2 separate regions of the Homo sapiens genome follow, and region 1 is linked to region 2. The links are contacts of gene promoters, found by promoter capture Hi-C in blood cells and fetal thymus (Javierre and others, 2016). All regions are on one chromosome and are shown on one strand. The core of a region is centred on a gene start or on the middle of the fragment in contact, and the rest is flanking DNA. Distances in the headings are between cores, read along the strand shown. Region 1 has its middle 21 kb from the start of GABARAPL1-AS1. Region 2 holds the start of EIF2S3B (eukaryotic translation initiation factor 2 subunit gamma B).

Region 1 (4,818 bases), core at 1,542-4,041, 270 kb after region 2:
TCAAATTAAATTATCTGCTAAGAATAAGTTCTAAGAATGTGGATTCTTTCTACCTGTTTCTCAATTTGTATATAGAAAAACTTTAAAGGGGAAGTTCCTTCTAGAAAGGTATGGTTATTTAACAAATATTATGTGTGTGTCTGCTAGCCTAGTGCCTGACACATATTTGTAAAGTAGTGAAATTATTCAGTGAATGAAAAAGGGCCAGATGCAATGGCTCACACTTATAGTCTCAGCACTTTGGGAGGCCGAGGCAGGCAGATCACCTGAGGTCAGGAGTTCAAGACCAGCCTGACCAACATAGAGAAACCCCATCTCTACTAAAAATACGAAATTAGCTGGGTGTGGTGGCTCATGCCTGTAATCTTAGCTACTCAGGAAGCTGAGGCAGGAGAATCACTTGAACCCAGGAGGCAGAGGTTGCGGTGAGCTGAGATCACACCATTGCACTCCAGCCTAGGCAACAAAGAGCAAAACTCCATCTCAAAAAAAAAAAAAAAAAAAATAGAAAAAAGAAAAACAGACATGTTCTCTGGCCTCATGGAAACCATATTCTAATGAAAGAAATTATAAAATTTAAGTTAAAAAGCAAATTCAAAATAATACAAGTTCCAATATGTGTTGTAAATGAAACAAAAAAGTGTTTGAGATTGACAGCAACAGCAGAGGGGCCCTAGAAACTTTAACTGGATGATCAGAGATTGTAATATTCATGCAGGATTTTTCTTGGCCCTTTTGCCGGACTCCTAGCACGAGTGCCCCATCTCCTCGGCCCACCATGCTCCGCCCCTTGAGAGAGGTAACACATAAGCAAGTGAGTATGGGATCTGGCCAGCCACTCCAAGCACCAATACAGGAGCAAGCTCCATGCAAAGCCCATGTCCAGACCAGTCATGTTGCCTTGAGGGGAACATGGCAGCCTGGTGCCCATGATCCCAAAGCCCCAGAGGGGGTGTGAGTGTGCTACTTAGCTCTTTTAGTTCCACCATCCACAGTCGATAAACGGCTGTGTGTTAGCAGCTCAGTTGGCCACTGACCCTGTAGCTGCCAGTGGGGTGGTTGCCCTCCACTTGCAAGGGCAAAGGGCCAGTGTGACAGCCTCCACCTGCACTTAGTGGGTCCCAAGCTTTTGTCCAGCGTCCAAGAAGAATGAGGTCACACTTGACAACTGAAGAATGGTAAGAGTGGAGAATTTTATTGAGCGATGAAAACAGTTCTCTAGTGGAGAGGGGAGCTGGAGAGGGTATCAGAAAAGCAGATCATGTTTCCCTGAAGTCAAGCTGTCTCCTCCCCAAAGTCAGGCTGTCTCCCCTCCACTGACAGGGGCCTTTATAGGAACAGGATGGGGGCAGGGTGGGCCATAGGTAGTATTGGAAAAAGCAACATTCAATTGGTTAAAAGGCATTATTCAGAAAGAACCAATAAGAAGAGAGCCAACAAACAGGAATGGAAGTCCTCACTCTGGTCTGTGGGTTTCAGGCTGTTTTTGACCTGAAGGTAAGGTTTCCCCAGGGACCCATCCCTGTCTGTCTAGGATTTCTCTGCCTCCTGCCTCTATTAATATTTAAGTTACGACAAAGTATGAGAAGGAGCTGGCTATACAGAGCTAAGAGAGGAGCAGTTCAGTGGAAGATACCAGGTATGTGCACAGCCCTGACTGAGACAGAAAGAATTTAATGCCATTCAAGAAACTAATAAAAGGCCAGTGTGGTTTGTGATTAGTTAGTGACAGGGCAATTGACATGTGACACTGGAGGATGAGGAGATAAACAGAGGACTGCTTGCATGCACAACCTGTAGTAAATTGGAACATTATAAACAGTATTACTTAGTTGTATATTCTATGGCAACAAAGTTCTATTATCATTCTACTTGCCTGTTTTCCCCCTAAGACAATACCAATCTAACTTCTAATCTTTTTTTATCCTCAGAAGAAACTTAATCTCCCAAATAAACAAGGAATGTTTGAGAAAAGATGCTCCAGAAATGCTGACTTCCTTTTCCTTTTCCTGCCTCACCCTCCTCTATCCACTTTTTCTTTAGACAGTGCCTTGCTCTGTCACCCAAGCTGGAGTGCAGTGGTGCAATCTCAGCTCACTACAACCTCCACCCGCCGGGTTCAAGCGATTCCCCTGCATCAACCTCCAGAGAAGCTGAGACTGCAAGCATGCTCCACCACAGCCAGCTGATTTTTGTATTTTTAGTACAGACAGGGTTTCACCATGTTGCCCTGTCTGGTTTCAAACTCCTGGCCTCAAGTAATCTGCCCACTTTGGATCCCAAAGTTCTGGGATTGCAGGTGTGAGCCACCACACCCAGCCCACTGTTACCTTTTGGAACAGAAGAAATATATCTATTTGTCTAAAACAGAAATGTTATTATTTCATCTAGATGCTGAAAGAGACACCAGAGTCAACAAAAATGTGCAATGCATCTTCCTCCTTTGGGGGAAGATTTAAAAAGAAAAATTGACAATGAACAAGCTTACTTCTTATTTTTTCTCTATTGTTAAAATTCTGTGGTTTTGTTTACAAAAAGGTGACACTATTATTAATAACAGATTGATTAAAAAGGAAAATAATTGCAGCCAGTGAGGATTAAGGCTGCAGTGTTATTAAGTGGATCTGGCCTGCCACCTGGTGGCCAGAAGTACAATGACCACACTCGTTTTGGAAATGAAGCCTCCCTGAACTGTAAAGGAGTAGGAGGGAAGAATTAGAGGTGGGAGCTGCCTTGCAAACTAGCTTAGCAATGTCTTTCAGTCAGATCAAAATAGAAGACAGATGACAGAAGACAGGTGGCTTATTTTCTTAAAGATGTACAAAGAAGCCTTATGCTATAACCTCCACTCGTAAGTAGCATGATATAGTTTGGCTTTGTGTCCCCACCTAAATCTCATCTTGAATTATAATCCCATAATCCCCACATGTAATGCGAGGGACCCATGGGGGCGGTTTCCCCCATGCTGTTCTCCTGACAGTAAGTGAGTTCTCATGAGATCTGATAGGTTTATAGCAATCCGGCATTTCCTCTCCTGGCACTCATTTTCTCTCCTGCCGGCCTGTGAAGAATGCACCTTCTGCCATGACTATAAGCTTCCTTAGGCCTCCCCAGCCATGTGGAACTATGATTCAATTAAACCTCTTTTCTTTTTAAATTAACCAGTCTCGAATATTTCTTCATAGCAGTGTGAAAATAGACTAATACAGTAAATTGGTATTGAGGAAGTGAGGCACTGCTATAAGGATACCTGGAAATGTAGAAGGGAAGCGATTTTGCAACTGGGTAGCAGGCAGAGGTTGGAACAGTTTGGAGGGTTCAGAAGAAGACAAGAAGATATGGCAAAGTTTGGAACTTCTGAGAGACTTGTTGAATGGTTTTGACCAAAATGCTGATGGTGATATGGACAATGAAGTCCAGGCTGAGGTGGCCTCAGATGGAGACGAGGAACTTGTTGGGAACTGGAGCAAAGGTGACTCTTGCTATGCTTTAGTAAAGAGATTGGTGGTGTTTTGTCCCTTCTGTAGAGATCTGTGGAACTTTGAACTTGAGAGACATGATTTAGGGTATCTAGCAGAAGAAATTTCTAAGCAGCAAACTGTTCAAAAGGAAGTAGACTATAAAAGTTTGGAAAATTTGCAGCCTGAACATGCAATAAAAAAGAAAAACTCATTTTCTGGAGAGAAATTCAAGCCAGCTGCAGAAATTTGCATAAGTAACAAGGAGACAAATGTTAATCACCAAGACAATGGGGAAAATGTCTTCAGGGCATGTCAGATACCTTCACAGCAGCCACTCCCATCACAGGCCTGGAGGCCTAGGAGGGAAAAATGGTTTCATGAGCTGGGTCTAGGGCCCCCCCTGCTCTGTGCACCCTTGGGAATTGTGCCCTGAATCCCAGTTGCTTAAACTCCAGCTGTGGCTAAAAGGGGCCAAGGTAAAGTTCAGGCCATTGCTTCTGAGGCTGCAAGCCCCAAGCCTTGTTGGCTTCTATGTGGTCTTGAGCCTGTGGGTGCACAGAAGTCAAGAATTGAGGTTTGGGAACCTCCACCTAAATTTCAGAGGATGTATGGAAATGCCTGAATGTCCAGGCAGAAGTTTGCTGCAGGGGTGGAGCCCTCATGAATAACCTCTGCTAGGGCAGTGTGGAAGGGAAATGTGGGTTGAAGCCCCCACACAGAGTCTCCACTGGAGCACTGCCTAGTCGAGCTCTGAGAAGAGGGCCACCATTCTCCAAACCCCAGAATGGTGATCCATTGACAGTTTGCAACATGTGCTTGGGAAAGCTGCAGCCACTAAGCACAGCCAGGAGTGGGGCTGTACCCTGCAAAGCCACAGGGGCAGAGATTCCCAAGGCCATGGGAGCCCACCTCATGCATCAGGCTGAACTGGATGTGAGACATGGAGTCAAAGGAAAACATTTTGTAACTTTAAGATTTAATGACTGCCCTACTGGATTTTGGACTTGCATGGGGCCTGTAGCACATTCATTTTGGCCAATTTATCCCATTTGGAATGGGCGTATTTACCCAATGCCTGTACCCTCATTGTATCTACGAAGTAACTAAGTTGCTTTTGATTTTACAGGCTCATAGGCAGAAGAGACTTGCCTTGTCTCAGATGAGACTTTGGACTTGGACTTTTGGGTTAATGCTGGAATGAGTTAAGATTTTGGGGGACTGTTGGGAGGGCATGATTGTATTTTGAAATGTGAGAACATGAGATTTGGGAGTGGACAGGAGGGGAATGATATGGTTTGGCTTTCTGTCCCCATCCAAATCTCATCTTGAATTGTAATCCAGTAATCCCCATATGTCA
Region 2 (4,697 bases), core at 1,855-4,354:
AGAAGATAAGTATTGTATTAATATTACCCTCACATAAATATTAGATTTTTTGAAGGAGGTCAGATTTTATCTGACGGTTCTCATGTGCTTTAACATATAAGAGATTTTAACAACTTTTCTAAGAATTTATATACACATATGTACACGCAAGTTTTTATACTTAAATCCTGTATATGAAGAATTTTTTTTCTATGAGTCTATGGTTTCATAACTTTAAAAAGCAGAAAAATTTTAATTTGCCCTACACTAACAAAAGAAAAAATTTGATTATTCACATTTATTCCCTTAAGCTAATAAGGGAATATATTTTAATGTTATATATGGAGATTAATATTACTTTAGGTCAGCAGGAGAACCCAGGGATGTATAATCACAATGCCGTCTTCAGGGCTGGTTAAAGTTTGAATTACTTTATCAGAAGAACATGATAGAAAATATATTTTCTTTTTTTTTTTTTTTTTTTTTTTTGCTTTCTAACATCTTTTACTTATTGACCTTTTGAAACATCCAAAAATTAGTAATATTATAATCTGTGTCACAATCATATAACAGTTAAGAAAAAACATAAAATGAAGGCCTAGAAGGATCTTTGTTACTCATCTAGAATTATTTGGTATAACAGTATTTTCCAATGGAGGAAGACTATTGGATTTCAGGCATAAAACAATGCAGAAAAACATCTCAAGGCATCACAGGGAGAGGGAGATAACTTCTGACTCTAGTTTCCCGTATTTCAGGCCAGGAAGAGCAAGGGGAGAAAATTATTTGCCCATGGGAACAAGTAATCATGCTCTAAAGGACAATTTCATTCGAACCCATTCGTGCATCCTTTTCATGCAATTCGAACCCATTCATTGCATCCTTTTCATGCAAAATTTCAAAGATAAAGCAACATAAAATATGGGGCCAAAGAAAAGGGAGAAGGTCTTCAAGGATAATTTGTGCCTTTAAGTTTTTACTGGTACAACAGTCCTTCAGCCTGGAGGTACTCAAAGACGAATCATGAAAAACAAAAAAAAACTTTATTTCGAACAGTTTCAGTGATATATGTGTGTGCTACAGCAAAGGCTGGTTGTGGCAAAGTTTCATTTCAAACTGCATGATGTGGGCTAGGCAAGGTGGCTCACGCCTGTAATCCCGGCACTTTGTGAGGCCGAGGTGGGCTGATCACCCTGAGGTCAGGAGAGACTGGCCTGGCCAACATGCCGAAACCCCGTCTCTACTAATACAAAAATTAGCCCCGTGTGGTGGCACACACCTGTAATCTCAGCTACTTGGGGGGCTGAGGCAGGAGAATCGCTTGAACCTGGGAGGCAGAGATTGCAGATCATGCCACTACATGCCAGCCTAGGTGACAAAGCCAGACTCAAAAACAAAACAAAATAAAACAAACAAAAAAACTGCATAATGTATAATTTTGACATTATGTGGGAATGCTTAACTTCTGCCAAAATGTAGATTCAATCCAACATTATGCCAATTTTTATACTAATTGTAGTCCCTAAGTTTTCATAACCAAAAAAAAAAAGAGAGAATAACCTTACCGTTACCTACTAAGGTAACAAACTGTGAAATCAATTCCCCAATATCGCTTTGAAAATAAACCCCTTGGTTGTTAAAGAGAAATTGCAACTTCCAGCTCCATCCGAATGTATTATTTAACCGGTATTCTTCAGTCATCATCTACTGTTGGCTTGATTGTCACTCCTCTTCTTATCTGACCCCAACCAATTAAACGCCAGTGTTTTTCAACTCTTCGGCTAAGGGCAATTTTTTCTCCTACCTCTGTGCACACTGGATTGGTCAAAACAATTTTGCCCAAATCGGCCTTGACAGCACTAACTCTCCCTCCTGTCGACAGGGATCCTATGTTCACCATGAGCACTTCATTCTTAGACAGCTTTTGAACCTTTGCTGCTTTCTTGTCTCCTTCAGTGCGTACACCTAGAAGCCGTCTAAGCAGGAAATAGGAAATTTCCAATTCTGTGAATATCTCAGGTAAAGCTCCGACTGCACCAAGTATTTGCCCCACCATTCTGTCAGCCCGGCACAAAGTGGGGTCAATTTTTGTTCCAACTCCAATAAGACCGCCTGGAGCAGCATATTGCAGATCATTATGCTCCGCAAAAAGTGAAACAATTTTGGAAAAGATTGATTTACACATGAGTTTTCCTTCACTATCTTTGGAAACAATACCAGGTCTTACTTCTGTCTCCTGGCCCACCTTTAATACTCCTTTTAGGATACTACCACCAGCTACACCTCCCTTAAGGTCATCAACTTCACAGCCAGGTTTGTTGACATCAAAAGATCTAATAACAATAAGCCGGGGCTCTGAAGTAAAGTCTCTTGGGGGTACTGGAATTTTCTTTACTATGTACTCACAAACAACTTCAATATTGTATTTCAGCTGAGCCGAAATTGGAATAATGGGAGCTCCCTCTGCTACTGTACCTTGGACAAACGCAAGGATCTGCTCGTATTGTTCTTTAGCCTGCCTTTCTTTTACCAAATCAATTTTATTTTGTAGAATCAAAATATGCTTCAGTTTCATGATCTCTATAGCAGCCAGGTGTTCAGATGTCTGAGGCTGAGGGCAAGATTCATTACCAGCTATCAACAGAAGAGCTGCATCCATCACTGCTGCACCGTTCAGCATAGTAGCCATCAAAATATCGTGGCCAGGACAGTCAACAAAGGAAACATGTCTGACTAATCTGAAGTTCCCTTTGGTTCCTGGAATGTCTGTAGGAAACTCATCAGGCATACTGCTCCCACAAGATCGATAACATTCTGGCCGAGGGCAACTTGGGTCATCAAGTTGATAAATCTTAGCATTAGCATATCCAAGCTTGATTGTAATATTTCTTTCTAGTTCATTTTTGAACCTGACGGTGTGAACTCCAGAAATAGCTTTGACGACTGTGGATTTCCCATGAGCTACATGACCAATTGTACCTATATTAATTGTGGCTTGTCTGCTGATAACTTCGTGTGAAAGTGGCGTCAACTTGGTAACATCCAAGGTGGTGAGATCCTGACGCGAAAGGTGCGGCTGCCCCAGAGTCACCCCAGCTTCTCCGCCCGCCATGTTGCCAAAAGAGGAAGAAAGTCACCCCGGCTGCCGCCTGATCGTCTGCAGGGGTCCTAGTGCGGGGCGGGGATGCGGAGGCCGGAAGGTCGACTAGGGTCTCAGGATGGCCGGTGCAGCAGCGGCCTCAGTGCTTGGACTTCTCTCTGCTTGAATCTGCACAGTGCCTGTCGGTAGGCTTACTGGAAAACACGGTGCAAAGTTGCTGGAGCTATTCGTCGCAGACTTGGTAGATATTTGTGCAGGCAATACTGAGGGCAGCCACCCAAACCCCCGCCCCCTGGGCCCATGCGAGGCGGGTCGAAAATATATTTTCAGTTGACCACAGATAAATACTTAAAAAATTAATGGACCATTGTAATCTATTTATATGAAAATGGATCTTGTATATACAGCCTGCTATTACATTTCTAAGAAGACACAAAACCAGCAACACACTGAATAATTCTACACTAAATATTTTTCTTCTTTAAGAAGATTAATTATTAATATATTTATTTTTTGTTCGAAACAAATAGCTATGTCGTGGTTTATATTATAATTTTCATTTCTTCAAATTATGTTGGAGTGATGACCATTAATAGATGCTATATTGGAGATTTATTACAATAGCTTTATTGAGGTATAGTTTATATACAAAAAAACTGTGCATTTTTAACGTATACAATTTGATGAGTTTGGACATATGCATACATTCGTAATACCATCACCCAATGAAGATAGTAGGCATGTTTATCATCTACAAAGTTTTTCTTGAGTACCTTTATTTTGGGAGCAGAGGGCAAGTAAGACACTTGACATGAGATCTACCCTCCTAGCAGATTTTAAAGTGATCAACGTATTGTTGCTAACTATACGTACTATGTGGTACAGTATATCTCTAGAACTTATTCGTCTTTCGTAACTGAAACTTAACCAATTGAAAGTGAGTCCCTGGTAACCACCATTCTCTGTTCCTATGAATTTGACTACTTTAGATAACTCATATAGTATAATCATAAAGCATTTGTTCTTCTGTGACTGGCTTATTTTATTTAGCTTAATGTCCTCAAGGGTCATTCATGTTGTCATGAATGGCAGAATATTCTTTCTTTAAGGCTGAAGAATATTCCATCATATGTACATACTACATTTTCTTTATCTGTTCATCTGTCAGTGTACATTTAGGTTGTTTAAATATTATTTATTCTTGATAATCCTACCATTGATGTGGGAGTGCAGATATCTCTTCAAGATACTAATTTTAATTCTTTTGGATATACTGTATACCCAGAAGTGATATTATTGGGTTATATGGGTAGTTTTACTCTTAATTTTTGAGGAAGCTCTATACACCTTTTTCATAGTGCATTCTTATCAACAATGTGCTAGGGTTCCAATTTCTTCACATTCTTACCAACATATATATATATATATATATATATATATATATATATATATATATATCTTCATATATATGTATATGGATATATTCGTTTTAAGGAAGAGGGTAATAAATGAAAGTGAGAGGATGGCTCATCTCCTTCTTCTGGGTATATATGAATGAATATATGGATATGTGAATGTATCCATATATATATATATATATATATATATGTAAAATAGT

Evidence for each region. The method cuts DNA at HindIII sites, captures the fragments that hold promoters and counts their contacts. A CHiCAGO score of 5 or more calls a contact.
Region 1: a fragment that was not itself captured here is called in contact with the fragment with the promoter of EIF2S3B in region 2 in 4 of 17 cell types (total CD8 T cells, naive CD8 T cells, endothelial precursors and 1 more); the score reaches 18.9 in total CD8 T cells.

What each region holds. Positions count from the first base shown.
Region 1 is chr12:10,233,770-10,238,587 of GRCh38, reverse strand. No RefSeq gene overlaps it. Among named protein-coding and RNA genes, the nearest start is that of GABARAPL1-AS1, 21 kb to the right of the region's middle. The HindIII fragment of the contact is 612 bases long and covers 2,486-3,097 here.
Region 2 is chr12:10,504,297-10,508,993 of GRCh38, reverse strand. EIF2S3B (eukaryotic translation initiation factor 2 subunit gamma B) reads right to left here and starts at 3,104. Exons shown (of 1, transcript NM_001357734.3): 1 at 469-3,104. The coding sequence starts at 3,091. The coding sequence ends at 1,673. The region is part of intron 3 of LOC105369657 (a long non-coding RNA gene); the gene reads left to right. The HindIII fragment of the contact is 5,298 bases long and covers 2,854-4,697 here.